2 separate regions of the Homo sapiens genome follow, and region 1 is linked to region 2. Evidence: promoter capture Hi-C in 16 types of primary human blood cells and fetal thymus (Javierre and others, 2016). All regions are on one chromosome and are shown on one strand. Each heading gives the region's core, a stretch centred on a gene start or on the middle of the fragment in contact. The rest is flanking DNA. Distances are from core to core; before and after follow the strand shown. Region 1 overlaps LGR4 (leucine rich repeat containing G protein-coupled receptor 4). Region 2 holds the start of SVIP (small VCP interacting protein).

Region 1 (5,051 bases), core at 1,804-4,303, 4.5 Mb before region 2:
TGGAGTTCATGTGCCAGAGAATGTACATAAAGAACTGATGATCCAATGAGAAGGGAACAGGTTTATTAAAGGGGGGGCTGGACTTCAACATGCAGCGTTTCCATTTCTTCCACCCCAAATGTAAACTTGGAGATTGGCCAGGAGGAAAGCTGGTCTGAGCTCATCTCCTTGGGCTGCCATGGGGATGAAATGCAGGCCTGCCTCCCCCTACTCAGCTGTAGTAACACACAGACACTGATGTGCTTGCTGCAGAAGCAGGAAGTGGAGGAGAGCTGGGATCCTTCTGTTAGCACCAGAGGAGGCAGCAGGCTTCCAAAGACAGGGACGGTGGAGGCTGCTTCCCAGGCTTTTTTGGAAAAGTAACCTTTCTCACCCATAAAAGGGTTCTCAAAAGGTATCCTATTCTCTCAGGTAGATGAGCTACCCCTCCTTCCATGAAGGATGAGTTTAGATAACAGAGATAAAGGTGATAACGAGCTTTCTCTTAGCACTTCCTGAAGGGGGAATAGAAAGGAAATTTAAAATAAGAGTTTCTTGTATTATTTGGAAGCCTGATAAATGATGCAGAACTGGCTTTTGAGGTCTGTGAATATCTTAACAATTTAAAACATTTTATTGGATATGTCATTTTCATGAAAGTTCATAAAACATGTTTTTTAGACAGTTGTAATACATAGTTTTCTTGTGTTTCATAGTCAAAATCTTGTTTTTCTTTTCTAATTTTTCAGTAAAACAGTTGTAATTTGTGTCATAACTAGCATGTCAAAGTCAGTTACTGGAACATGGAGTTCAGCGACTGAATGAGTTCTTGCAATGCTAGTTTGTATTATGTAGGATTTTATTGTACATAGCTTTGTATGAATAGTTAACATCACCGAGGTGTAGTCCTAGCTATATTATCTTACTGAATGGCCTTTGTCAGTTTCTTTGAAATATCAGTTTCTCTGGATGAAAAATGGGGATAATTATACTGTCTTAACCTGCTTCATCAGGTTGCTTTTGAAAGTCATAAGAAAATATATAAAAAATATGTGTAGATACATACATATACATACATGATTATAAAGTATATTGGGGCTAGAAAGGAAGAAGAAAAGGGAGCTAATATTTATTGAAGTCTAACTATATATCCAGCATCCTGCTTAGTTCCTTATGTGTATAATTTTACTTAAGCTGCACAACTGTATGAAACAGGCATTATTATCCACAAGTGAGAAAATGAATACAGGTTAAAATTTATACAATTTTAAGTTGCTTTCTTAAGGTAAGAATAGCAAGTTATGAACCATCTCATTCCAGACCCTCAGTCATCAAATACCTCTTATGCCCTAGATATTGTGCTATGTAAATTAGCTTAGATGCAAGAAAAAATGAAAAATTTCATCTAAATATCACTCTTTATCAAATATTTAATAAAAGAAATATTTATAGCCTTACCAAATATTTAATAAAATAAATTAAAGTCAGTTTATTTTTAAAATAGCCTGGTCCATGACCAAAATATCTTAGAACTAGTAATCAGTTCAGTTTTGTTCAAGTAGAGAGCAGATTTAATTAGTCTATATCATTAGTTTTTCTATCAAGCCATATCATTTTCTAAATTGTTTTCTAAGTTATCTTTTATTTCTCTCTCTCTGTGTGTGTTTTTTTTAGGTGCTTTTAAGCCCTGTGAATATTTACTGGGAAGCTGGATGATTCGTCTTACTGTGTGGTTCATTTTCTTGGTTGCATTATTTTTCAACCTGCTTGTTATTTTAACAACATTTGCATCTTGTACATCACTGCCTTCGTCCAAATTGTTTATAGGCTTGATTTCTGTGTCTAACTTATTCATGGGAATCTATACTGGCATCCTAACTTTTCTTGATGCTGTGTCCTGGGGCAGATTCGCTGAATTTGGCATTTGGTGGGAAACTGGCAGTGGCTGCAAAGTAGCTGGGTTTCTTGCAGTTTTCTCCTCAGAAAGTGCCATATTTTTATTAATGCTAGCAACTGTCGAAAGAAGCTTATCTGCAAAAGATATAATGAAAAATGGGAAGAGCAATCATCTCAAACAGTTCCGGGTTGCTGCCCTTTTGGCTTTCCTAGGTGCTACAGTAGCAGGCTGTTTTCCCCTTTTCCATAGAGGGGAATATTCTGCATCACCCCTTTGTTTGCCATTTCCTACAGGTGAAACGCCATCATTAGGATTCACTGTAACGTTAGTGCTATTAAACTCACTAGCATTTTTATTAATGGCCGTTATCTACACTAAACTATACTGCAACTTGGAAAAAGAGGACCTCTCAGAAAACTCACAATCTAGCATGATTAAGCATGTCGCTTGGCTAATCTTCACCAATTGCATCTTTTTCTGCCCTGTGGCGTTTTTTTCATTTGCACCATTGATCACTGCAATCTCTATCAGCCCCGAAATAATGAAGTCTGTTACTCTGATATTTTTTCCATTGCCTGCTTGCCTGAATCCAGTCCTGTATGTTTTCTTCAACCCAAAGTTTAAAGAAGACTGGAAGTTACTGAAGCGACGTGTTACCAAGAAAAGTGGATCAGTTTCAGTTTCCATCAGTAGCCAAGGTGGTTGTCTGGAACAGGATTTCTACTACGACTGTGGCATGTACTCACATTTGCAGGGCAACCTGACTGTTTGCGACTGCTGCGAATCGTTTCTTTTAACAAAGCCAGTATCATGCAAACACTTGATAAAATCACACAGCTGTCCTGCATTGGCAGTGGCTTCTTGCCAAAGACCTGAGGGCTACTGGTCCGACTGTGGCACACAGTCGGCCCACTCTGATTATGCAGATGAAGAAGATTCCTTTGTCTCAGACAGTTCTGACCAGGTGCAGGCCTGTGGACGAGCCTGCTTCTACCAGAGTAGAGGATTCCCTTTGGTGCGCTATGCTTACAATCTACCAAGAGTTAAAGACTGAACTACTGTGTGTGTAACCGTTTCCCCCGTCAACCAAAATCAGTGTTTATAGAGTGAACCCTATTCTCATCTTTCATCTGGGAAGCACTTCTGTAATCACTGCCTGGTGTCACTTAGAAGAAGGAGAGGTGGCAGTTTATTTCTCAAACCAGTCATTTTCAAAGAACAGGTGCCTAAATTATAAATTGGTGAAAAATGCAATGTCCAAGCAATGTATGATCTGTTTGAAACAAATATATGACTTGAAAAGGATCTTAGGTGTAGTAGAGCAATATAATGTTAGTTTTTTCTGATCCATAAGAAGCAAATTTATACCTATTTGTGTATTAAGCACAAGATAAAGAACAGCTGTTAATATTTTTTAAAAATCTATTTTAAAATGTGATTTTCTATAACTGAAGAAAATATCTTGCTAATTTTACCTAATGTTTCATCCTTAATCTCAGGACAACTTACTGCAGGGCCAAAAAAGGGACTGTCCCAGCTAGAACTGTGAGAGTATACATAGGCATTACTTTATTATGTTTTCACTTGCCATCCTTGACATAAGAGAACTATAAATTTTGTTTAAGCAATTTATAAATCTAAAACCTGAAGATGTTTTTAAAACAATATTAACAGCTGTTAGGTTAAAAAAATAGCTGGACATTTGTTTTCAGTCATTATACATTGCTTTGGTCCAATCAGTAATTTTTTCTTAAGTGTTTTGTGATTACACTACTAGAAAAAAAGTAAAAGGCTAATTGCTGTGTGGGTTTAGTCGATTTGGCTAAACTACTAACTAATGTGGGGGTTTAATAGTATCTGAGGGATTTGGTGGCTTCATGTAATGTTCTCATTAATGAATACTTCCTAATATCGTTGGCTCTACTAATATTTTCCAATTTGCTGGGATGTCACCTAGCAATAGCTTGGATTATATAGAAAGTAAACTGTGGTCAATACTTGCATTTAATTAGACGAAACGGGGAGTAATTATGACACGAAGTACTTATGTTTATTTCTTAGTGAGCTGGATTATCTTGAACCTGTGCTATTAAATGGAAATTTCCATACATCTTCCCCATACTATTTTTTATAAAAGAGCCTATTCAATAGCTCAGAGGTTGAACTCTGGTTAAACAAGATAATATGTTATTAATAAAAATAGAAGAAGAAAGAATAAAGCTTAGTCCTGTGTCTTTAAAAATTAAAAATTTTACTTGATTCCCATCTATGGGCTTTAGACCTATTACTGGGTGGAGTCTTAAAGTTATAATTGTTCAATATGTTTTTTGAACAGTGTGCTAAATCAATAGCAAACCCACTGCCATATTAGTTATTCTGAATATACTAAAAAAATCCAGCTAGATTGCAGTTTAATAATTAAACTGTACATACTGTGCATATAATGAATTTTTATCTTATGTAAATTATTTTTAGAACACAAGTTGGGAAATGTGGCTTCTGTTCATTTCGTTTAATTAAAGCTACCTCCTAAACTATAGTGGCTGCCAGTAGCAGACTGTTAAATTGTGGTTTATATACTTTTTGCATTGTAAATAGTCTTTGTTGTACATTGTCAGTGTAATAAAAACAGAATCTTTGTATATCAAAATCATGTAGTTTGTATAAAATGTGGGAAGGATTTATTTACAGTGTGTTGTAATTTTGTAAGGCCAACTATTTACAAGTTTTAAAAATTGCTATCATGTATATTTACACATCTGATAAATATTAAATCATAACTTGGTAAGAAACTCCTAATTAAAAGGTTTTTTCCAAAATTCAGGTTATTGAAAACTTTTCATTTTATTCATTTAAAAACTAGAATAACAGATATATAAAAGTGTTAATCTTTGTGCTATATGGTATGAAATACAATATTGTACTCAGTGTTTTGAATTATTAAAGTTTCTAGAAAGCAATCTATTTTGCCTTAATTTAAAACTAGGTATATTAATGAATTTAGTTTTAAAGTAAGCAAATTAAATATTTGTAAGTGGACAGTATTAGAAGAAATGTTGGAAGTAACCATTAGAAAACACTATTTTGATATTTATTTGTAAACATATAAGAACATTTTGCTGAAACTTAGAAATAAGGTTTTATCCTAAGTCTGAACTATACTCATGGAAAACAG
Region 2 (4,908 bases), core at 1,359-3,858:
AGGCAAGCAATTTATAATTTACAAATTATTTCTGGAATTTTCCATTTAATATTTTTGGACCTCAGTTGACCATGCAGTTGACAATACATGTGCAAAACATATATTGTATATTTCATTTATGTAAAACTTACAGATTATAGTGATATTAATGTTGAATAAATAAACTGAAACTTTATCAAAACCAGGAATGGAAGGCACTACTGTACACCTAAAGTAGATGTGTTAATTGTATTTTATATCTCAATAATGTTTATTAAAAATAAAAATCAATAAACCATGGAAAGTGTTGGGGAAATAATTATGTCATGGAAAGTGTTTTGATAATAATTAAAAACAAAATCTGCCAATGCAGGAAACTCTCCACAAATGCAGAAAAGAAACAGTTTTATCATTGAATAAGCATTAAATCGATTGTGATTTCTATCAGAAGCAATCTACTAAAGAGTTTGCAATGAAAACATTCTTCACCATTTTTATATAGCCTGTCAGATACAGTCCACTACACACATGTTAATTGTTTTTATCTAAAAGAAATCTAAAGGAAAGAATAACACTTGTATCTCTTGACAAGCAGAAAGCTCCATCTTGAAGCCAAGTGCCTAGACAGTAAACTACCATGAAGACGGGGAGACAGGTGCCACTCTGGGATGTTTTCATTTCTAAGAGAAAGCCAATAGGCCTCCAAAGATATTCTGAGGATACAAAACTGGCAAGAGGCTTATTTAGGTTCTTTCTTTCTGATGCAAAACTGGCAAGAGGCTTATTTAGCCTCCCCTGCCCTCCCCTCCCCTCCCCTCCCCTCCTCTCTTTCTTTTCTTTCGACGCAATCTCTCTCTGTTGTGCAGGCTGGAGTGCAGTGGCGCGAGCTCGGCTCACTGCAACCTCCGCCTCCCGGGTTCAAACGATTCTCCCTGCTCAGCCTCCGGAGTAGCTGGGATTACAGGCGCCCACCACCATGCCTGGCGAAGTTTTGTATTTTTAATAGAGAAAGGGTTTCCCCACGTTGGTCAGGCTGGTCTTAAACTCCTGACCTCAGGTGATCCACCCACCTTGGCCTCCAAAAGTACAGGAGTAAGCCACCATGCCTGGCCTTTTTTTTTTTTTCATACATTTCAGTGAGACAGAGATAGCGCTTACAATTTCACGTTTTCTAAACACAATGCTAAAGAGGAGGTGGGTAGTTATCTTTCTCTTTTTGCAACAGAGAACCTTCACTTTTTCTTTATATATTTTTATTTACCCTTAGAAACGGCCCATGCAATCGAATAATAGTATTAAAAAAGCATCATCCCCTATTATTTAAGGAATAAACTACTGTTTCATTCAATAACATGGAAGAATTTAGAAAATATTATGGCTTTTGCAAAACATATTGTATATTTCATTTATGTAAAACTTAAAGACTATAGTGATATTAACATTTATGCAAAACTTAAAGACTAAAGTGATATTAAACAAATTAATAGTTTCCTGGATCTAGGTATAGGATAAAGTATTGAATGGGATTGGGTACAATAGAAGGTTTTTGGGTGATGGAAAACTTACATATCTTGAATGTGGTGATCACATGTTTGTTAAAACTCAGTGAACTCTACAATCAAAATAAGTGCATAATATTATATGTAAATTATACATCTATAAAAAATTAACCAGCAAGTATATCAAAAAGCCGACAATGGTTTCTGAGACGCTGTCACTATACATCCTACCTTTTTGTAATGTTTGAAAATTTTTACATAAGCAGAAATAACTAATAGAATGCAAAAATAAAATAAAATAAAATAAAAGCATTTGTGTGGAGACGAGATCAGTAACTTTAGTATCACCTGTGGGTTTACTGGAAATGAATCTCAGGTCCCACCTTATACTTACTAAATCAGCAAGTAAATTTTAACTAGTTGCCCAGCTGATTCTCATACTTATTAAAATTTGAGGAGAATCATTAAAACATTTCTCAGTAGATGAAACTTTATTATTTCTCTCGGAAGGATAAATGACTTCTAAATACCAGAAACTAGTGGAAATGTCAACTAATGCCACATTTATGACGCTAGATTCATCGTCATAATAATGGATTTTATATTCTGCCCTCTGTTCTGGAATAGCACTGTCACTAAGAAGGGAGAAAAGGGTGCTGATGTTTACTTGGAATTTTGGCTTTAATTTCTAGGACACCAGAGTCCCATCTCATAAAAAAAGGTAGCATGAACTACCCAGAGCTGTACCACTCATTCATTTATAAATGGTAAGGCAAGGTTAGCAGGAAGAGCTTTGGAACCGTAGCGAAGCTTTTCCATCCCTTCCCTGCATTGCTACCCACAGCAGGTGTTTCCTGGAACCTAGGCTTTGGCCACAAGCCCAGCGGTCGCGGGGCGGGGGTAGGCGGAGCTGTGGGTGAGGAAGGGGCAATGCCTTAAGGGGGCGCAGCTGAGCTGTGGGACTGGTTGGTGTCGCGAGAAGAGGGGGGCGTTGCCGCAGAGAGGCGAGGCGGGGCAGAGCTGCGGGGTGGGGGCGGGGCGTTGCCGCTGGGGCGGAGCCGAGCCAGTGGAGGGCGGTGGGGGCGGGGCAAGCGCGGAGGACCAGGGACCGGCTCCGGACCGCGCAGTTAGCGCCGCCTGGCCTGGGCCGGACCCGGTCAGGGTTCTCAAGCTGTCGTCCCTATGGGGCTGTGTTTTCCTTGTCCCGGGGAGTCCGCGCCTCCCACGCCGGACCTGGTGAGTAGAGCAGGTCCCTGCGTCCGCCGGGCCGCGCCTTGAGCACCTGTCCTCGGGTTGCGGGGCGGGCCGAGCCATTGTACCTGGTGGCGCAGGTCGAGAGCCCGCTGGGGGACCCTGCTAGCGAGGACGGGTGGACGCGTCAGGAGGGTCGTTGGGTCCTGTCAGAGCGACCTAGGCCGTCGCCTCCGTGTAGATCTCCACTTTTGTAACAAAAAGTTGTCGAAAGGCGGCTGTGGCGTCTTTCTACCTTCCACTGACTTTAGCTGCGCCGGATCTTCATAGGGCGCCGGCGCACGCAGAGGGCGTTACGCGTGGGACATTCCGGGGGATGTGGTAGATGGAATTCGGCGCGAAAAGACATTGCTTTCTCCGGGAGCTCTTTAGTCGTCTAGGAGATGTGCGTTTTCAACTGTGTCTACCATCTTTTAAAAGAAGGTGCTCGGAAAGTCGCTTATACGCCTGAGCTTTATCGGATATGTTTTTTTAATGATTTCTTTTTAGTATTTATCTCATTCTTTTACGTTCTCCCTTTAAAAGAATATGTAGTACAGAGTGTCCAATTTATAATGTCGTATTTAATAAAAATACTGGACACCCAGTTACATTCGAATTTCAGATATACAAGGAATACGTTTATAATATCGTTTTGTGCCATGCAATATTAGGGATCTAGTTCTACAAAAACATTACTCATTGCTTATCTGAAATTCAAATGTAGCTAGTGGGTGTGTGGTACAATACATGTACACTTTTTGTAGCTTTCTGTTAACAGTATCTTTACATTAGTACTCCTTACAGGGAGTTAACATAAACCTGTTTCTCTTCTCTAGCTAAAAATTAGTTGAAGAAAATGAAGTATTTTTGGGAAGTACATTAACTCTTCAGCTACTATAGATACTAAAAATTTAGTACTTATAAATTTGATGTGGGAAAGTTCAGCTTCTCTTTGTTGCTGCTGTTGTTTTAAATTAAGTTGATTTTGTTGTTCTGGCTGTCGATAAAATATAACATGTCAGATTTGTTAAGCCCTCCCCCCCATCCTCATACTATACCCTCTTCCCTTGATAACCACACGGCTCACTGCTTGGATGTCACTTTACCAGTGAAGCTTTTGCTGACCACGTTAAACAAAATATATTCCCCACAATACCACCCACCCATTCTCCCATTACTTATCTGCCATGCCATCTGACAGACGTTTACTTACTTCATTATATTTGTCTGTGCGCCCGCAATTGGAATTTGTTTCATTTGGGAGGAGACATTTATCTATGTTTTTACACTGTTGTATCCCAGCACCTAGAAAAAGGGCTTTATAATAAGTAGTACATGGTCTAGAAAAATAGCATTCACTGTTTTCTGATATGGAACAATACCTCTCATGAAATTACTCCAGTCCTTCCCTCCTACACACTGAGATTAGCCCACTTCATTTATTAACCTTTCCTAAAAACACCAGGTTACTTCAGACTCCATTTTAACCGGCAGTAACAAACCATGTATTTTCCTTTTTGTATTTGTAAACATTATTTGTTTTGTTATTGCCCTGACTAGCTTGTAGGCCTTTTTATTAAAAAAGAGAGTAAATAAATGATTATATAGGTAAACCTTGTATCTGTTTTAGCATGTGCTGATTTGAAGGCATATTGATTAGGAGAATGAAATTCAAAAAGTTGAGTAGTGGCATTCTTTGTGGGACATTTAGGGCCAGTACCGAATATTTTTGTAAATTGTTATAGTGCCTATGAAATAAATGTGAATAATTTATTAATAATAATGTTTGTTATTTTAATACATATTTTTACACATTTATTTAGGAAGAGAAAAGAGCAAAGCTTGCAGAGGCTGCAGAGAGAAGACAAAAAGAGGTAAGATTAAAGATCAAGTTTTGCCTACTTAGATAATTGAGTTTGGACTTTATTCTTCATAGATGTCCATAGCTAGATTTTCTAACGCAAATGGCCTTTGATATCCCAAAAATTTACATTTAAATGTAATTATTTTCAAAATGATTTCCTTATTTATATGAATTGCATTAATATATTTATATTAATATATGAAAACTATCATATCTTCTCTAAATTCAGATACTCTTTTAGTAACATCCTTCCTTTTAAAATGGCTGTGCATTGTAAAATACTTACAGATGTGAAGCAAGTTTAGGGGAAAATTTGTATAGTTACAAAATACC

The links. The method cuts DNA at HindIII sites, captures the fragments that hold promoters and counts their contacts. A CHiCAGO score of 5 or more calls a contact.
Region 1: a fragment that was not itself captured here is called in contact with the fragment with the promoter of SVIP in region 2 in 1 of 17 cell types (total B cells); the score reaches 5.3 in total B cells.

Annotation. Positions count from the first base shown.
Region 1 is chr11:27,365,746-27,370,796 of GRCh38, reverse strand. It overlaps LGR4 (leucine rich repeat containing G protein-coupled receptor 4), which reads left to right. Exons shown (of 18, transcript NM_018490.5): 18 at 1,654-4,836. The coding sequence ends at 2,930. Among named protein-coding and RNA genes, the nearest start is that of CCDC34, 5.1 kb to the right of the region's middle. The HindIII fragment of the contact is 2,091 bases long and covers 2,008-4,098 here.
Region 2 is chr11:22,827,501-22,832,408 of GRCh38, reverse strand. SVIP (small VCP interacting protein) reads left to right here and starts at 2,608. Exons shown (of 4, transcript NM_148893.3): 1 at 2,608-2,714; 2 at 4,535-4,585. The coding sequence starts at 2,661. LINC02718 (long intergenic non-protein coding RNA 2718) reads right to left here and starts at 2,995. Exons shown (of 11, transcript NR_187210.1): 1 at 2,798-2,995. RefSeq lists a silencer at 2,484-2,553 and an enhancer at 2,704-3,013. The HindIII fragment of the contact is 1,537 bases long and covers 2,291-3,827 here.